5 separate regions of the Homo sapiens genome follow, and regions 2, 3, 4 and 5 are each linked to region 1. Evidence: promoter capture Hi-C in 16 types of primary human blood cells and fetal thymus (Javierre and others, 2016). All regions are on one chromosome and are shown on one strand. The core of a region is centred on a gene start or on the middle of the fragment in contact, and the rest is flanking DNA. Distances in the headings are between cores, read along the strand shown.

Region 1 (2,700 bases), core at 160-2,659:
AATTACAACTTTCTCTCAAATATCATTTAAAATATTGAAACATCCTTTGTCTACCTCAGAAAGTCCAACTTTCAAACTCGCAGAACAAAAGAATAAAAAAGATACTGTGTGTTCAGTTGATAAAAATGAAGGTGAAATCTTTACACCAAGTTTAATAGTGAATGAAAAATTCTTACAATTAAAAACAGGATGAGGAAAATTTGGTACATTCATTTGTATGCTTCAATCTTCTGCTTTAAACCACGTCAAGAAACTAAAGCAAGAAAAGCTTAACTGTCCCATGTTGTTGTTCACTAAATATAAGATTATCTTTCTAAGTAAGACTTTCAACGTGCTGCTTTTTACATCTTCTAATAGCAGAAGTAACCGCTGTTCTTGGGGAAGAAAGAACTGAAACCAGTCAAACGTTAAAAGTCATGATGGCATTTAGGTGTGAGAGAAAGTTTATCCCTTAATTGCTTGCCTACTTCCCATTCACATTTAATATTGGGGGTAAAGTTTGTTGAGTATTTTCCAGAGAGCACTTTTCACTTCTTTGTTCCTAAGGCTGTATATCAAGGGATTCAGCATGGGAATCACCACTGTGTAAAACACAGAGGCTATTTTGTCTGTGTCCACGGACTGGCTGGAGTTGGGCTGTAAGTACATGAAGATGATTGTGCCATAGAAGATGGACAAAGCAGTGAGATGGGAAGCACAGGTGGAGAAGACTTTCTTCTGCCCTTCAGCAGAATGCATCCTCTGAATGGTGATGCATATGAAGAAGTAAGAAATAAGGATGACCAGGAGGGTGAAAAAGACGTTGAAGCCTGCCACAAAGACCACCAACTTGCTGATGCGTGTGTCAGAGCATGAGAGAGCCAGGAGTGGGGGAATGTCACAGAAGAAATGATTAATCTCATTAGAACCACAGAAGGAGAGTCTGAAGGTGCCTGCTGCATGGATAGAGGCATTGAGGAAGCCAGAGACATAGGAACCAGTAGCAAGGAGGGCACACACACCTGCTGTCATGGTGGTGGTGTAATGAAGAGGCCTACATACCGCTGCATGGCGATCATAGGCCATGGAGGCCAGGAGGTAGCACTCAACAGTGGCAAACCCCACAAAGAAGAAGAACTGAGCTGCACATCCATCGTAGGAGATGGCCTTGTCCCCTGACCGCAATGCAGCCACCGTTTTGGGGGCTACAGCTGATGAGTAACCCAAGTCTACAAGGGAGAGGTTACTGAGGAAAAAGTACATTGGAGTGTGGAGATGGGAGTCTGAGTGGATGATCACCATCATTCCCCCATTCCCAAGCAGGGTGATGAGGTAGATGAATAAAAATGCCAGGAGGAGGGGTATCTGAAGATTGGGGTCATCTGTTAATCCCAAGAGGATAAACTCTGTCACTTCTGTGCTATTCTCCATTGTGGCCAGCTTGAATTAGCCTGGTGATTAAAGAAGAGGCGTCAACAAAATTCCAATGAAAGTATGAGAAGGGAGGATGGAATGATAAAAAAGGAGAAAACTAATGTATAGAGAGAATGTACTGTGTGTAACACTCATCCTAGAACCCTCTGTTATATTATAGCTTTTAATTCATATGAGATAGGTGCTATTATGCCCATCTTACAGATAAGGAAGTTAAGGCTCAGGGAGCTGAATATTGAGCAAGATAGCCTATCTAGGGGTCAGAATCAAAGTTCACCCCTTTATATTTCTGAATCTAAAGTTCATACATTCATCTTGAATTCTTTAACACATTTACATCATATAAATACAAATTATGATGTGGATATAAGATTGTATGTATTTAATTATTAAAAATAAAAACATCCATCACTTATTGTCTTCCACATTCTACTTCCAATAATATAGCCTCACTAAAGATTTTCTAAATTTATTTTTCCTTAAAACAACACAAGTTTATTCTCTCAAAATTCTGGAGGCCAGAAGCCTCAAATCAGTTTCACTGGGCCAAAATCAAGGTGTTGGCAGGACAAGGTGGTGCCCTCAAGGTCTGTTTGATACTAAATCCAAAGATCTTAACCACAACTTTTGAAGCCTTTATAAATTAATCCCTCAACAGTAGTTCAACTGAAAGGGAGTATGGTATATGTAAATATGAGTATGTATTTATATATATTTAATATAAAACTATAAATTTGATATATACAAATGGCTTTGTGTATCTGTGTATATGCATATGTCTTTTTTCACCCCTTATCAGAAGTCTTTGCTGTAGACCCTAATTCCAGTTAAGTCCTCCTTTCTCTCCCTCCTCAAAGCACTTGAGTCTTGGCTGATTATTGCACAATTAGCTGGGCAACCACTCACTCTTCACCTAGCTCTAAGCCCCTTGGGACAGTAACTATCTTCATCCCCTCTGGTCCACTCTCCTTACCATGGCCCCTCACACATGTATGTAAATATTTGGTGAATCAAACAGAACATCAATAGGAAAGTATGGAAATATTTTTCATGCTCTTTAATCCCACAACAAACATCCTATCATCCTCTTGTCTACCAGGTTTGTGCTTTGGGCCAAAATATTAGCTTAGACTTGTCATATGAAAAATATTCAGGAGTAACAGTGAGTTTGCAGATGGTCAGGCCTGGAGACAGGTTTCTGTCCTCATTTTAGAGCATTCTTTCTCTCCTATTTTTGTTCCTCAACCTGAGGTGTTCACAGGCTTTCCCCACTCCTAGTAGCAGAGT
Region 2 (2,700 bases), core at 109-2,608, 650 kb before region 1:
GGACACATTGTTCTTTTCTCACTTCTTGGTCTTTGCTATGCTTTTCCCTCTGCTAAGAACACTCTCCCGGCCTAAACTGTGAGCTCTGGAAGGAGAAGAATTGCGTACTTTGTTCACAAATTTAGGGCTAGATTGAGTCATATGTTTCAGTGCTTCTCAAACTTTCACGTGCATGCGAATTATATGGGGATCATGTTAAAATGCAAATTCTTTTTTTTTTTTTTTGAGGCAGAGTCTCACTCTGTCGCCCAGACTGGAGTGCAGTGGTGAGATCTTGGCTCACTGCAACCTCCGCCTCCCGGGTTCAAGCTATTCTCCTTCCTCAGACTTCCAAGTAGCTGAGATTACAGGCACCTGCCACCATGCCTGGATAATTTTTTTTTTTTTTTGTATTTTTAGTAGAGACGGGCTTTCATCATGTTGGACAGGCTGGTCTCGAACTCCTGACCTCTGGTGATCCGCCCACCACGGCCTCCCAAAGTGCTGGGATAACAGGCGTGAGCCACTGCGCCCAGCCAAAATGCAGATTCTTATTCAGCAGGTCAGGAGTGGGGCCCCAGATTCTACATCTGAAAGTTCCCAGGTGATGACAGTGCTGCTAGTCCAAGGAAAACAATCATGTGGATACCCATTCACTCATTTATTGAACAGATGTTTATTGAGTGCCTGCCATGTGCCAGGTATTATTCTAGACATAGAAGATATAACAGTGGATGGGGCAGGATAATAATTTATCACTCTCAGATTGAAAGCCTGTAAGTATTTATTCAATATTTATATAGTTGAGGTGGATAGCAACTTATAGTCTACTAGCTAAAATTGTACAGTTGAGCCACATGATATGCACATTCAACTTTTGTATTTTTATCTGACTTTCATGCTTTCCAATGCGTTTTTGTTTTGTAGTTTCTTCTTTCTTCATGAGAGTATGTGTTTGTGTGTGTACCACTTCTTGGGTGATAGATTATGGGGTTAAACTTAGATAAAATCACTCTTAGTAGATACCACTATGTTGTACATTATTTAGTTTTATAATTCAAGGAGGTAACTGTGACGTGAAGCTTCAGGCAGCCATCAAATGACTGGTCTCATCATTAGTTTTACTGCCTGTAGTGGCACCATACAACTTGGGCATGTGATTCAAAAAATGCTGAACAGAGATAGGTCAGTCCAGGCAAGGAGTGTTTTAAAATGTCCACCCAAAGAAACAGTCTACCTCAATTATGTAGAAACATGAGTTAACCAGTACCTTATTTCTGATTTATTCCAGTGATGTTTTACTACTTCTTACAGATGATGGTCTAATCAAATGTCCAGTTGGCCAGTGACACACAAAGCTATGTATTTACTAAATCTCATTTCTTTTTCCTCCTCTGGGTGAAAAAAGGACTGCATTTCCCAGCCTTCTTTGCCATATATTAGCTGTAAGACTGGTTTCAGGCCAATGATACACGGGTCAAAGTGATGTGAGCCAACCTCAGGCCAGGTGCTTAAAAATGCTGTGTGACCTTGACCATTTCCCCCACCATTAAGATCTTGGAGGTCAAAGGGTGAGATGGCAGGATTGCAAGATGAGAGGGGCTCAGATGTGGAGACACTGGATGGATAAATTTCCCTGAGAGTCACCTGATGTGTCTCAAATTTAGCATAGGTGGAAAGCTTTGTGGTATGAAGTCACTGACATTTGGGGTTTGTTTGTTACTATGGCATAAGCAATCTGCCTAATAGGTGTTCTGACTGTCAAGCTAGGGCCTACCACATTGTGTTACACCTAATTGCCACATAAATATTTTCGAGATGAATGAATTAGATTAATTTTTACTAAATCTCTTTACCATAAGATTCTAGTCCTGACTTCAACTGAATGTACTAAAAATTTAGTTTATAAGTTAAAAGTAGGTGGAGCATAGGAGGAATTTAGTAAAGATTTGCTGAATGAAAGAAGACAAAAATGAGAAATTTTCACCCTCAGCTTCCTGGAAGGGATTTTTAAATTGTTCATTTTTAGAATGTAGGTAGTAGGTAGGTAGGTAGTTAGGCAGACATGATCAGGGCAAGACAGGTCCCCCCTCCAGGAATGTCAGGCAAGCATCAAGTGATGGTCAGGGGGTTGTTAAACTGTCTCTCTAAAGTAATAACTGGTTGCAGCCAGTGCCAGGGAGAGACAGTCTTCCAATAGAAAACACGTGGGCCCGGCACCGTGGTTCACACCTATAGTCCCAACATTTTGGGAGGCCGAGGTGGGTTGATCATTTGAGGTCAGGAGTCTGAGACCAGCCTGGCCAACATGGCGAAACACCTTCTCTACTAAAAATACAAAAATTAGCTAGGTGTGGTGGTGTGCACTTGTAATCCCAGCTACTCAGGAGGCTGAGGCAAGAGAATCGCTTGAATCCAAGAGGTGGAGGTTGCAGTGAGTCGAGATTGTGCCACTGCACTCCAGCCTGGGTGACAGAGTGAGACTCCATCTCAAAACAAAACAAAACAAAACAACCTAAACCCCTACCCCCCCAAAAAACACCTGAAGCTGATGATCAGCAGCTTCCCCATAAGATGTCAGGAGTTGGGTGAGTGGGCTCATGCATGCATGCTAAGAGGTAAAATGGTGAAGTTTAATTGCTGTGTGGTCTTCTTTTTTTTTTTTTTTTTTTTTGAGACGGAGTCTCGCTCTTTCGCCCAGGCCGGACTGCAGTGGCGTTA
Region 3 (2,700 bases), core at 47-2,546, 790 kb before region 1:
CACAGGGTTGGGGGTAAGGTCACCGATCAACAGGATCCCAAGGCAGAAGAATTTATCTTAGTACAGAACAAAATGAAAAGTTTCCCGTGTCTACTTCTTTCTACACAGACACGGCAACCATCCGATTTTTCAATCTTTTCCCCACCTTTCCCCCCTTTCTATTCCACAAAACCGCCATTGTCATCCCGGCCCGTTCTCAATGAGCTGTTGGGTACACCTCCCAGACGGGGTGGTGGCTGGGCAGAGGGGCTCCTCACTTCCTAGTAGGGGTGGCCGGGCAGAGGCGCCCCTCACCTCCCGGACCGGGCGGCTGGCCGGGCGGGGGGCTGACCCTCCCACCTCCCTCCTGGACGGGGCGGATGGCCGGGCGGGGGGCTGACCCCCCCCCACCTCCCTCCCGGATGTGGGGCTGACCCCCCCACCTCCCTCCCGGACGGGGCGGCTGGCCGGGCGGGGGGCTGACCCCCACACCTCCCTCCCGGACGGGGCGGCTGGCCGGGCGAGGGGCTGACCCCCCCACCTCCCTCCCGGACGGGGCGGCTGGCCGGGCGGGGGGCTGACCCCCCCACCTCCCTCCCGGACGGGGCGGCTGGCCGGGCTGAGGGGCTCCTCACTTCCCAGTAGGGGCGGCCGGGCAGAGGCGCCCCTCACCTCCCGGACGGGGCGGCTGGCCGGGCGGGGGGCTGACCCCACCTCCCTCCCGGACGGGGCGGCTGGCCGGGTGGGGGGCTGACCCCCCCACCTCCCTCCCGGACGGGGCGGCTGGCCGAGCGGGGGGCTGACCCCCCCACCTCCCTCCCGGACGGGGCGGCAGGCCGGGTGGGGGGCTGACTCCCCCACCTCCCTCCCGGACGGGGTGGCTGGCCAGGCAGAGGGGCTCCTCACTTCCCAGTAGGGGCGGCTGGGCAGAGGCGCCCCTCACCTCCCGGACGGGGCGGCTGGCCGGGCGGGGGGCTGACCCCCCCCACCTCCCTCCTGGACGGGGCGGCTGCCGGGCGGAGACGCTCCTCATTTCCCAGACGGGGTTGGTGCCGGGCAGAGGGGCTCCTCACTTCTCAGATGGGGCGGATGCTGGGCGGAGGGTCTCCTCACTTCTCAGACGGGGCGGCTGGGCAGAGACACTCCTCACCTCCCAGACGGGGTCGCGGCCGGGCAGAGGCGCTCCTCACATCCCGGACGGGGCGGCGGGGCAGAGGCGCTCCCCACATCTCAGACGATGGGCGGCCGGGCAGAGACGCTCCTCACTTCCCAGATGGGATGGCTGCTGGGAAGAGGCGCTCCTCACTTCCTAGATGGGATGGCGGCCGGGCAGAGACGCTCCTCACTTTCCAGACTGGGCAGCCAGGCAGAGGGGCTCTTCACGTCCCAGACGATGGGCGGCCAGGCAGAGACGCTCCTCACTTCCCAGACAGGGTGGCGGCCGGGCAGAGGCTGCAATCTCGGCACTTTGGGAGGCCAAGGCAGGCGGCTGGGAGATGGAGGTTGTAGCGAGCTGAGATCACGCCACTGCACTCCAGCCTGGGCACCATTGAGCACTGAGTGAACCAGACTCCGTCTGCAATCCCGGCACCTCGGGAGGCCAAGGCTGGCGGATCACTCGCGGTTAGGAGCTGGAGACCAGCCCGGCCAACACAGCGAAACCCCGTCTCCACCAAAAAAGTACGAAAACCAGTCAGGCGTGGTGGCGCTTGCCTGCAATCGCAGGCACTCGGTGGGCTGAGGCAGGAGAATCAGGCAGGGAGGTTGCAGTGAGCCGAGATGGCAGCAGTACAGTCCAGCTTCGGCTCGGCATCAGAGGGAGACCGTGGAAAGAGAGGGAGAGGGAGACCGAGAGGGAGAGGGGAGAGGGGAGAGGGGAGAGGGGAGAGGGAGAGGCAGAGGCAGAGGCAGAGGCCAGAATTTGTTTTCATTCTTTATTTTCTTTCCCTAGCTTTTTATTGTTGTTGTTATTTAGTTTTTATTTCATAATCATAAACTTAACTGCAATCCAGCTAGGCATGTAAGGGAACAAGGAAAACACGGAACCCAAAGGGAACTGCAGTGAGAGCACAAAGATTCTAGGATACTGCGAGCAAATGGGGTAGAGGGGTGCTCTCCTGAGAGGAGAGCACAGAAGGAATGGTCTGGTGGTGAAGACAAAACAAGTCAAACTTACTAGACTTATCCACAGTCAGCAATGGTGATCTTCTTGCTGGTCTTGCCATTCCTGGACCCAAAGCGCTCCATGGCCTCTGCAATATTCATGCCTTCTTTCACCTTGCCAAAGACCACATGCTTGCCATCCAACCACTCACTCTTGGCAGTGTAGATGAAAAGCTGGGAACCTTTTGTGTTGGGTCCAGCAATTGCCATGGACAAGGTGCCAGGACCTGTATGCTTTAGGATGAAGTTCTCATCATCAAATTTCTCCCCATAGATGGACTTGCCACCAGTGCCATTATGGCGTGTGAAGTCACCACCTGATACATAAACCCTGGAATAATTCTGTGAAAGCAGGAACTCTTACAACCAAATCCTTTTTGTCCAGTGCTCAGAGCACGAAAGTTTTCTGTTGTCTTTGGAACCTTGTCTGCAAACAGCTCGAAGGAGATGCGGCCCAGGGGCTCACCATCCACGGTGATGTCAAAGAACACGGGGTTGACCATGGCTGATAGTACAGGGCTCCTGGTGGTGGCAGCAAAGCCTCTTTGCCCAACTTTT
Region 4 (2,700 bases), core at 10-2,509, 810 kb before region 1:
AGGCTTTGAGCTGGGCCAGTTGCAATCCATTCGTTCAGAGGGCACCACCTCCACCTCCTATAAGAGCCTGGCCAACCAGACACGCAATGGAAGCCTATCTTATGACAGCTTGCTCACACCTTCAGACAGCCCTGATTTTGAGTCAGTGCAGGCAGGGCCTGAGCCAGACCCACCTTTAGGCTATACCTCTCCCTTCCTGTCAGCCAGGCTGGCCCAGCAACGGGAAGCTGAGAGGCACCCACGTTTGGTGCCAACTGGCCCAACACACCGAGAGCCCTCACCAGTCCGTTACGACAATCTGTCGCGCCACATTGTGGCCTCTCTCCAGGAACGAGAGAAGTTGCTGCGCCAGTCACCCCCACTCCCGGGCCGTGAGGAAGAACCAGGCTTGGGGGACTCAGGCATTCAGTCAACACCAGGCTCGGGCCATGCCCCTCGTACTAGTTCCTCCTCAGATGATTCAAAGAGATCACCTTTGGGCAAGACTCCACTGGGACGCCCAGCTGTCCCCCGTTTTGGCAAGCCAGATGGGCTAAGGGGCCGGGGAGTAGGGTCCCCTGAACCAGGCCCAACAGCCCCATACCTGGGCCGATCGATGTCTTACAGCAGCCAAAAAGCCCAACCTGGTGTCTCTGAGACAGAAGAAGTGGCCTTGCAGCCATTACTGACACCCAAGTAAGTATTAGTACTATCCTGACCCTTAGCCAATTTCAAATTAGCATACTGCTCTGCAAAAGCTATCAGGGCTTCTGTTGTACATCCTAATGTAGGTGGACCCAGGGGTATCCTGGTAGCTCTTTATTTTCACTTTGACTCTACCTGCCTTCATGGGCAATTCCTGTTAAGAGACTGAAGATTAATACTTTTTCCATAATGCTATCTTCCTAAAAGTATTTGCTTGGGAGTAAGTACATGTGATAGCTGTTACTAGAGAGTAGTAGTACATAGGAGAGATTGGGAATCAGGCTTATTTTAAGCAGGGCAATAAAGGGGAATGTTTGGGTAAGAAAGTATGGATATAGAAAAGAACATCATTTTTTTCTCTGAACCTTTGAAACTGTCTCCCTTTCCAATGTTTTCTGTCCCATTTCCTGACACCTACGTCTTGTCTCTTCTTTCCAGAGATGAAGTACAGCTGAAGACCACCTACAGCAAATCCAACGGGCAGCCCAAGAGCTTAGGCTCAGCCTCCCCTGGCCCAGGCCAGCCACCTCTCAGTAGCCCCACGAGGGGAGGAGTCAAGAAGGTGTCAGGGGTTGGTGGTACCACCTATGAGATTTCGGTGTGAGCCTTCGGCACCTCCCCTCCCCAACGCCTCTGCGCCTACACCAAAGGGCCCCAGGTGGCCACCTTCCTTCCCTCAAGGGGCTCCCCTCCCGTGCATGGACATTTTTTAAACCACCGATTCCAAGAGGATGAGGAGTGTTTTCTAAAATGCAGTAGGCTTGGGGAGTCGGAGAGTTGGGGCCCTGAGACTGGGGTAGCAACCCCCCCTTTTATCTTTTAAGACCTTCCCTTCCTTGATCCCTGGACCAGACTCAGTGGACATTTGTGCAATTGCTCGCCCTGGAGGGAACCAGATCATTTTTAAACCAGAAATAATTTTTTTTATTATTGTTACGGATTCTATTTTTTTCCTCTTCTGCGTTACCAGGTGTGTGTGTACATATAATATATATATATATATATTATAAATATCAAAGAAATTATATATCTATCCTGGGATGGGAAAATGAGGGAGGGATACATATACGGAGGGGGATCTTACTCTTCCCATTCCTCAGACCAGCAGGAAAAGAGGGGAGACGTCAGTCTTTTTCCTGTGGTTCCCTCTCATTTGTCCCAGTTACTAACTACGGAAATAGCATCCTCTGCTGGTGCTAAGTGTGATTAGGAAGAAGCCTGGGGAGAGGTGAGTCTGGAATTTTGGTCACAAGAGGGAAGGACTTGGAGAGGAGAATTAGTTTTCTAGGCTCATTGGCATTTAGTTTCCCTAGGAAAGGGGTCAAAACTTCAAGACACTGGTGGTGGTGGGAGATCAGGAAAATAACTTGGCCTAGCTCAAACAATATTGGATAATCCCCTCCTTGGGGGAGAGGGATTAGAGTGTGCTCCTACTGGCCCCTTGGAGCCTCCCCTAGCTTACACAGTTAACTTGATTTTAAAATCCAAGGCCAGGAGAGAAGAATCCAAAAAGCAATATTTTTCATCACATGCCAAAAACGGGGGATAGAGAGAAGGAGTGGCAGGCCTAGGCCCCTCCGATTGTCCCTTGGGGGTTACCCCTCAGCCCACCTCACTATGGTGCTGGGTAGAGGGGATACCTGGGTTCTAACCTCTAAATAGGGGAGATCCCAGCCTCCACAAAGAGGCCCTTTTATTTTTTATTCTGATTAGCCATTTTAAACCAACGAGGAATAAAAAGAAATCCTGATCTAACCAGCGCCCCCTGACTTGTGTTATTTTGTCTGGTTGAGACAGGGTGAACGATCTCTGGTGGGAAGTTATCAGTGACAACCTCATAAACTTCTCTGGTCCCAGCCCATCTTTAGGCAAGACTATAATGAAATTAGCCACTTAACAACTAAAAAAATAAAAAAGAGACCCAGTGCGGTGGCTTATACCTGTAATCCCAGCACTGAGGGAGGCTGAGGCAAGAGGATCACTTGAGCCCAGGAGTTCCAGACCAACCTGGGCAAC
Region 5 (2,700 bases), core at 112-2,611, 530 kb before region 1:
AAATAAAAAATTAGATGGGCATGGTATTCTGTGCTTATGGTCCCAGCTACTTGGGAGGCTGAGGTGGGAGGGTAACTTGAGCCCAGGAGACCGAGGCTGCAGTGACCTGTGATCATGCCACTGTACTCTAGCTGGGGTGACAGAGTGAGACCCTGTCTGAAAAACAAAAAATCCCACAACAAACACACCAAATATTGATTGAATGAATAACAACTGTATCCATAATAAAAAAGAGTATTATAAAAAAACATTAAAAAGCAGAAAATACTTTGGAACATTAATAGTATAATAAGACATTTTAAAGAATTAATTTTAAAGAATTCAATAGGAGATTTGCAAAATAAAATTGAGAAAATATCCTCAAGATACAGAATAAAATGATGAAAGATAATAACAAAAAAGATAATAACAAAAAGATAATAACAAAAAACATAAGAAAATTAGATATAGCACAGAATCTTAACATCAAACTAATGGGAATTCCAGAAAGGAAGGACAGAAAATTTGGACAGAATTCAAGCATTCACTGGGTACCTGGGTAAATAAATGACAACAGAATTATTTCAAGGCACATGATTGTGAAATTTCAGATTCCGGGGTATAATAAGAAGATCCTGTAAAGCTTCCAGAGAGTAAAAGGAGATCACAAACAAAAGATGAGTATCAGAATGATGTTGGACTTCTCAATGACAGCACGGGAAACCAGAGACAACGAGATGATAACCTCAAAAACTGAGAGAAGGTGGTCACAACTTTTGAATTCTATACATAGCCAAGCAATTAGATTAATGTGATGGTGAAATAAAGAATGGTTCAGATATGCCAAGTCATAAAAGTGTACCTCTCGGGCATCCTGTCTTAAGACACTACAGAAGAAGTGGCAAAATTAGGGAATAAACCATGGAAGAAGATCTTTGATCCAACAAACAGAGGACAGAAGACAGGAAAGGAATTCCCATGCTGAGGGTAGTTTCAGGAAGGGAGCCACACATCAAGCTGAGAGAATGTCCAGTCCAGAGAGGAGCAGGAGTGGGCAGGGTCCCAGGACGTGTGCCTCTGAGAAATACATTGAACTAATGGATTAACTGATATACTAGCATGGAGATGGGTTTTTAGTTCTGGTTGGGAATAGTCTGGGGATAGTTTGAGAAAGCGTTAATTATGGGTACATAGAAAAGTAAGCAAATGAAAAACTAAGGCAATTATTAATTCAGGAAAAACAAAAAGTCATACAAGAAAGGATATGTGATCATAACATACCAAATGACAAACCTGTGAATTACATTTTTATAGCCAATAATGCAAACATTGAACAGTAACTTAAGAAAAAATCTTGATATAACTTTACTGAGAGAATGATAGAAAAGGGATATAGAGATGATAGATAGGTTAAAAGAGCTAAATCTCTGTTTTCTATTTTAGGAAGTAAAAAGTTAAAATCTTGAAGTGAAAAACAAAATGAAAAAAATTCTAAAAGCATGTGATCTAGAAATATGACAGTAAACAAGAGAAATACACGACAGATTTGAAAGTGATTGCTTTGGTGTGCGAGTCCCGGGCAGAGGGAGGAGTGGTCCAGGGAAGATTTTTCTTGTTACAAGTCTCGTGGTTCTGTTCAACTCTTTAAACTGCATAATGAAGTCTTTTGATAATAATAAAAAAAACAGTTAAATTACAGCAGTATGGTAATGAGGGGATGGTCTTATATACCATCTCATCTGTAATCTGTTGGCCTCTTGGTGCAGTACTAATAGTGAGGGTTTGGAGACAGCTGCACCATTGGGGCCTAGTCATGCGGAACGTGGTGTCTTCTTTGAAGCAGTCATGAGCTTATCATATTCTTTCATTCTCTGCTGGAATAGAAGGTCTGGGAACCAAGAGTCTCTCACTACACGTTTAAGGATAGATAAATAAACATGCAAATAGCACACAAACATTAGGTTATTTCTCCTAGCTGAAAAAAATTTACTTTTTATCCCACTTTCTCCTTTAGCTATTGCTTTATTTTTCTGCATCACTTTACAGCCACATTTCTCTAAATAGTTGTTCACACCCATTGTTTCTAATTCTTTTCTCCCTTTCTTTTTGAATTCACTCCAACAAGCTTTCATTCCCACGACTCCACTAAAAACAGCTCTTTTTAACATCTTTAATGGCCTCTGTGTTACTAAATTTAATGGTGAATTCAGTTTTTCTCTTACTTAAGGAATTGGCAGCATTTGATGCAGTTGGCAATTTGGAATTCCCCAGACACTTTCTTTGCTTAGCACTCACTGAGCTCATTCTCCTGGTTTTCTTCTTGCTGTTGGCTGCTCCTTCGGTCTCTTTTGTGGGTTGCTCCTAATTTCTCTAGCCTCTTAATGTAGAAGTGCTCAGGAAATAGTTCTTGGACAGCTTCTTTTCCCTACCTACGCTCACTCCCGGCTCGCTCTCTTGCAGCCTCATTACTTTAAATATGATCTATAAGTTGATGAGTTCCAAAATGGTATCTTCAGTCCTCTCTCCTTTGAACTTCAGACTCATGGATCCAATTTCACACTTGGTCTTTCTGCTTGGATGTGTCTAAAAGGAAATTTTTGTTGGATCCCAAACCAAACTCCTGATCTTCTCCCAGCAAACCTGCTCTTCCCAAACCTTTCCCACATGAGCTGGGGGCTATTCCATCCCTCTAGTGGCTCAGTCTAAACCTTGGTATTGTCT

Evidence for each region. The method cuts DNA at HindIII sites, captures the fragments that hold promoters and counts their contacts. A CHiCAGO score of 5 or more calls a contact.
Region 2: a contact is called between a fragment that was not itself captured here and the fragment with the promoter of OR5B21 in region 1, in 2 of 17 cell types (endothelial precursors and megakaryocytes). The highest score is 8.1, in endothelial precursors.
Region 3: a fragment that was not itself captured here is called in contact with the fragment with the promoter of OR5B21 in region 1 in 3 of 17 cell types (naive CD8 T cells, endothelial precursors and megakaryocytes); the score reaches 8.1 in naive CD8 T cells.
Region 4: a contact is called between a fragment that was not itself captured here and the fragment with the promoter of OR5B21 in region 1, in 3 of 17 cell types (naive CD8 T cells, total B cells and naive CD4 T cells). The highest score is 5.3, in naive CD8 T cells.
Region 5: a contact is called between a fragment that was not itself captured here and the fragment with the promoter of OR5B21 in region 1, in 1 of 17 cell types (endothelial precursors). The highest score is 5.2, in endothelial precursors.

What each region holds. Positions count from the first base shown.
Region 1 is chr11:58,506,696-58,509,395 of GRCh38, forward strand. It overlaps OR5B21 (olfactory receptor family 5 subfamily B member 21), which reads right to left and starts at 1,410. Exons shown (of 1, transcript NM_001005218.3): 1 at 112-1,410. The coding sequence starts at 1,410. The coding sequence ends at 481. All of the region lies in intron 2 of LOC105369313 (a long non-coding RNA gene), which reads right to left. The HindIII fragment of the contact is 6,996 bases long and covers 267-2,700 here.
Region 2 is chr11:57,861,271-57,863,970 of GRCh38, forward strand. No RefSeq gene overlaps it. Among named protein-coding and RNA genes, the nearest start is that of CTNND1, 100 kb to the left of the region's middle. The HindIII fragment of the contact is 598 bases long and covers 1,060-1,657 here.
Region 3 is chr11:57,715,886-57,718,585 of GRCh38, forward strand. All of the region lies in intron 1 of TMX2 (thioredoxin related transmembrane protein 2), which reads left to right. All of the region lies in intron 1 of TMX2-CTNND1 (TMX2-CTNND1 readthrough (NMD candidate)), which reads left to right. It also overlaps the pseudogene PPIAP42. Among named protein-coding and RNA genes, the nearest start is that of TMX2, 4.6 kb to the left of the region's middle. RefSeq lists an enhancer at 1-178. The HindIII fragment of the contact is 5,340 bases long and covers 1-2,700 here.
Region 4 is chr11:57,698,744-57,701,443 of GRCh38, forward strand. ZDHHC5 (zDHHC palmitoyltransferase 5) reads left to right here. Exons shown (of 12, transcript NM_015457.3): 11 at 1-675; 12 at 1,123-2,439. The coding sequence ends at 1,288. Among named protein-coding and RNA genes, the nearest start is that of MED19, 12 kb to the right of the region's middle. The HindIII fragment of the contact is 3,103 bases long and covers 1-2,700 here.
Region 5 is chr11:57,981,178-57,983,877 of GRCh38, forward strand. No RefSeq gene overlaps it. Among named protein-coding and RNA genes, the nearest start is that of OR9Q1, 41 kb to the right of the region's middle. The HindIII fragment of the contact is 1,482 bases long and covers 621-2,102 here.